Regions from separate parts of the Homo sapiens genome. Here region 1 is linked to region 2. The links are contacts of gene promoters, found by promoter capture Hi-C in blood cells and fetal thymus (Javierre and others, 2016). All regions are on one chromosome and are shown on one strand. The core of a region is centred on a gene start or on the middle of the fragment in contact, and the rest is flanking DNA. Distances in the headings are between cores, read along the strand shown.

Region 1 (2,700 bases), core at 65-2,564, 200 kb before region 2:
ACATTTTGCCGTGATTATATTCTACTTTTAAAAGCGTAAGTACACACAACAAATATTTAGAAAATTCTCAATCATCTCTCTTTTTAAAACATTGTAGCTTTTGGCCAGGCGCAGTGGCTCATGCCTGTAATCCCAGCACTTTGGGAGGCCGAGGCGGGCGGATCACGAGGTCAGGAGATCGAGACCATCCTGGCTAACATGGTGAAACCCCGTCTCTACTAAAAATACAAAAAATTAGCGGGGCATGGTGGCAGGCGCCTGTAGTCCCAGCTACTCGGGAGGCTGAGGCAGGAGAATGGTGTGAACCTGGGAGGAGGAGCTTGCAGCGAGCCGAGATTGTGCCACTGCACTCCAGCCTGGGCGACAAAGCGAGACTCCGTCTCAAAAAACAACAACAACAACAACAACAAAATTGTAGCTTTTTCCTTCTTCATAGATTTGGGAAGCTTCATTGATATTGGACTTTTCCCAGGAAGGCTTCATGGAGTGTGGAGGCCCAAGATAAAGTCTAGGTAGTCTAAAAGGAGATCTCTGCATAAAGGATGAACAAGAGATCAAACCATGGTTCAGAAGAAGACAGCAGTCCTCTTTTGCTTTTTCACCTTGGTGCTGGACAGAGGAGGAAAAAAAAATCTCGCCAAGAATTCTTAACTACACATTGGTCCCCATGCAGTGTCGTTGTCTGATTTTATGCTAACTGTGTGGCTAAAAATCTACAAATAGAAAATATAACTTAAAGCGGTTCTAGATTAGTACAGGTCCTAAACAACTGAGAGAAGCAAATGTAAATCTTTTCTGGAGGAATGCCAGTTCAACTCAGAGTTCAAAGTAGTCAATTATAAAATAAGAGGCCAGGCGCAGTGGCTCACGTCTGTAATCCAAGCACTTTGGGAGGCTGAGGCGGGTGGATCACCTGATGTCAGGAGTTCGAGACCATCCTGGACAACATGGCAAAACCTTGTCTCTACTAAAAATACAAAAGGCTGGGCACAGTGACTCACACCTGTAATACCAGCACTTTGGGAGGCCAAGGTGGGTGGATCACTTGAGGTCAGGAGTTTGAGACCAGCCTGACCGACATGGTGAAACCCTGTCTCTACTAAAAATACAAAATTAGCCGAGCATGGTGGCATATACCTGTAATCCCAGCTACTCGGGAGGCTGAGGCAGGAGAATCACTTGTACCCGGGAGGCAGAGGTTGCAGTGAGCTGAGATCAGGCCATTGCACTCCAGCATGGGCAACAAGAGCAAAACTCCATTTCCAAAAACAAAACAAAACAAAACAAAATCCAAAAATTTGGATGGGCATGGTGTCTCACGTCTGTAATCCCAGCACTTTGGGAAGCTGAGGCGAGTGGATCACTAGAGGTCAGGAGGTCGAGATCAGCCTGGCCAAGACAGTGAAACCCCGTTTCTACTAAAAATACAAAAATTAGCCTAGCATGGTGGTGCACGCCTGTAATCCCAGCAACTCAGGAGGCTGAGGCAGTAGAATCGCTTGAACCCAGTCACTATTAAATGAATAAGCCTTATAGATGATAAATTCCAAATATTTTACATGGGGGAAAAAAACAGACTACGTAAAGAAAAACAAACCAACCAATTTTTTTTTTTTTTTTTAAAAGATGGAATCTTGCTATGTTGCCAAAGCTGGACGTGAATTCCTGGGCTCAAGCAATCCTCCCGCCTCAGCCTCTCGAGTAGCTAGAATTACACACACACACCACACAAACCAACTACCTTTTTTTTTTTTGAGACGGAATCTCCCTCTTGTTGCCCAGGCTGGAGTGCAATGGCACGATCTCGGCTCACCACAACCTCTGCCTGCCGGGTTCAAGTGATTCTCCTGCCTCATCCTCCCAAGTAGCTAGGATTACAGGCATGCACCACCACGCCTGGTTAATTTTTTGTATTTTTAGTAGAGACGGGGTTTCTCCATGTTGGTTAGGCTGGTCTCGAACTCCCGACCTCAGGTGATCCACCCGTCTCGGCCTCCCAAAGTGCTGGGATTATAGGGGTGAGCCACCACGCCCGGCCAGACAACCAACTACCTTTAAAAGAACAGAAAAGGGTTTGGGAAGAGAAAACAGAAAAAGCATTACAAAGTAGAAAGCAGATAATAGAATGATAGGAAAAAATCTAATTATATAAGCAATAACAAATATAATGGGATAAGCTTTTCAAATAATAGTAGATTATCACATTAGATTTTTATTTATTTATTAAAAATTTTTTTTTGAGACAGGGTCTCAGGCAGACCAATTTTATTGATTCATATAGAGGCAAACAAATTATTAGAATATCATATCTAGCAATGTATTAAAAAATATAATACATCTTGGCCAGGCTCGTCGGCTCATGCCTATAATCCCTGCATTTTGGGAGGCTGAGGCAGGTGGATCACTTGAGGTCAGGATTTCGAGACCAGCCTGGCAAACATGGTGAAACCTTGTCTCTACCACAAATACAAAAATTAGCCAGGTGTGGTGGCACGTGCCTGTAGTCCCAGCTGCTACAGAGGCTGAGGCAGGAGAATCGCTTGAACCTGGGAGACGGAGGTTGGAGGTTGCAGTGAGCTAAGATCATGCCACTATACTCCAGTCTGGCTGACAGAGCAAGACTCTGTCTCAAACAAAAACAAAAACAAAAAAAAAAAAACGGAAAAGAAACTCTGGACCCTTTAACTATTGTGCCTCTCT
Region 2 (2,700 bases), core at 1-2,500:
CGACGTCAGGAGATCGAGACCAGTCTGGCCAACATAGTGAAACCCTGTCTCTACTAAAAATACAAAAGATTAGCCGGGCGTGGTGGCACATGCCTGTAATCCAGCTACTTTGGAGGCTGAGACAGGAGAATTGCTTGAACCCGAGAGGCGGAGGTTGCAGTGAGCCGACACCGCGCCACTGCACTCCAGCCCGGGCGACAGAGACTCCGTCTCAAAAAAATATATAAATAAAAATAATGTTGGCGAGAGATTAAGAAAAACTTTAGGTTCAACTGAAGTTAAAGTTTCTCATATTGTTTCATTTTTTTTCCCTATCTTTTGTTTATTTGGTCTCTGTATTTGTTCCTTTTTACCGTTCCTGACATGTATTTGCTGTTGGGGAAGATACTGATGCAACGACGCTACGAGCCGCGTTCTGTGATTCCAATTATTTATCCCCAGAAACTGGTCTTAGAAATCTGAAGTACTGGCCGGGCGCAGTGGCTCAAGCCTGTAATCCCAGTACTTTGGGAGGCCGAGGCGGGCGGATCACGAGGTAAGGAGATCAAGACCACCCTGGCTAACACGGTGAAACCCCGTCTCTACCAAAAATACAAAAAAAAAAACGGGCGCGGTGGCGGGCGCCTGTAGTCCCAGCTACTTGGGAGGCTGAGGCAGGAGAATGGCGTGAACCCAGGAGGCGGAACTTGGAGTGAGCCGAGATCGCGCCACTGCACTCCAGCCTGGGCGACAGAGCAAGACTCCGTCTCAAAAAAAAAAAAAGAAAAAAAAAGAAAGAAATCTGAAGTACTCCTAAGCATAGTGAATAAAATAATACATTTCTCACCACCACCATCACCGCTTTTAATAAAGTCTTTGACCTCTCTGTGTTGACTCCCTCTGGTTTGAGGTTTACCTAAATACATTCCTCTTGCAAAGACTGAAGTCAACATTAAAAAAAAAAAAAAAAAAAAAAAAAAAAAGACGGCAGCCTTTTGACCTCCCAACCCCCCTATAGTCAGATAGTCAAGAAGGGCATTATCTGGCTTACCTGAATCGTCCCGGGAATTTTCTTCGGTGAGCATTTGTGGAGACCCTGGGATGTAGGTTGGATTAAACTGTGATGGGTCCATCGGCGTCTTGACACAACACTAGGCTTCTCCAGGATCTTTGAAACGTAGCAGAAACTGATGACAGAGCCTCAAATTGCTACCAGGTAGCCCGGAAAGAGGCTGAAAACCGGAGCTCCAACGAATGGTCAAAGAACTGACGTAAACTATAGGTCCGGCTTCCTTTTAAAATACAGATAAGCCAATCTTCCAGGATATTTGAATGTTAATGATCCCATGATTAGAGGATTAAGGGATCCAAATGATTAAAGGTGAATGGGTGTAGTTTAGACTCATAGGGTAGTTCTTCATCTGCTTTGCATTAAAATAATCTGTCGGATGTCATATCTGCTAGAAAATTTATTAAAATCCTCTTTTTGTGGTTCTGTCTCCCTGAGGTTGCCTTACATATAAGTTGTTTTTTTCTTGTTTTTTTTTTTTTTTTTTTTTCCCAAACTCTACTCCTGGAGATGGCTTCTGTTTTGTGAACTGGGCTTAAGTGTTCTAGTGCAGAGGAGAATGGCAGTTTTTACCGCCCCCGCCCCACCACCACCACTGCCCATAAACTCCCAATTAAGCTGAGAAAGTTTCCTTTAAGTTTTCCTTGCTTCAATCATCTTAAACCTTTGCTGCTACTAAGAAGAGAGGAATAATGAAGAAGTATCTGTTATGAACACTTTCATAGCTTGATATTTTAGGGACATGTATTTTTTATTTGTTAATTTGCTTTATAAACTATAAACAGTACCTAACATTTCTGAGCAGCTGAAATTAACTAACCTTACAAATTGCTACTCCCTCCCCACAAAAAAATGCTTGTATTTGTAGCAAAGCACAACAACATTTAACCACTGATTGTCTGCAGGAGGTGGAAGAACAAGTCCCCAGCTGCCCCTCTCATCTTTTTCCCGTCTTATTCAAATACGCACGTTCCCCCATTCCCTCTCTAGGTGGAAACCACGAGAAAATACTCAAAGGCAACCTTGTTTGGGTTTGGTAAAAAGCAAAAATTGAAGTTATGATTAAGAAATATTTTCATAGAGAATGAGCAGCCATAGGCATAGATCATGTCCCAACACTTTATGCAAGTGATTCTCAAAAGTGTGGTCTCCAGGATCGCTTAATCACCCAGCAGTTAAAGGCTGCAGTGACCTATGATCGTGCCACTGCACTCCAGCCTGGTAGACAGGGCAGGACCCTGCCTCTTGGGAAAAAAAAAAAAGTGCAGTTTACAACAAGCACCTAGTTAACTTAGATATACAAATTCTGAGCTCCAAACCAGCCCTACTGAATCAAAGACTGGCGCCCAGTGGTAATGCTTTAACAAGCCTCCCAGGCAATTCTGCATTTAGCCAGAAGACCCAGAAGTGATCCCCAGGTGATTCTGATGGGTGCTCAAGTTAAGCAGCCCTGCTTTACGGCACTGTGAACTTTCTACTTCTGTTGTTCAGCTCTTGGCTAATCTCCCTCTTGCCTGGGGAATCTCTGATAATCAGTCCGCAAGAATTTCACTGGAGAGATAAATACAAAAAAATCCCATTGCAGGGGGTTTAGGATTAGGAGGTGAGATAACAAAAAGGGCTGAAATAGACTCTCATTTGTAAAAAACCTA

What was found. Contacts are between HindIII fragments. The CHiCAGO score rates a contact against its expected background, and 5 or more counts as called.
Region 1: a fragment that was not itself captured here is called in contact with the fragment with the promoter of DPPA3 in region 2 in 1 of 17 cell types (M1 macrophages); the score reaches 5.5 in M1 macrophages.

The regions. Positions count from the first base shown.
Region 1 is chr12:7,910,948-7,913,647 of GRCh38, reverse strand. No RefSeq gene overlaps it. Among named protein-coding and RNA genes, the nearest start is that of SLC2A3, 24 kb to the left of the region's middle. RefSeq lists an enhancer at 1-756. The HindIII fragment of the contact is 1,731 bases long and covers 449-2,179 here.
Region 2 is chr12:7,709,983-7,712,682 of GRCh38, reverse strand. It overlaps DPPA3 (developmental pluripotency associated 3), which reads right to left and starts at 1,250. Exons shown (of 4, transcript NM_199286.4): 1 at 1,031-1,250. The coding sequence starts at 1,112. The HindIII fragment of the contact is 13,723 bases long and covers 1-2,700 here.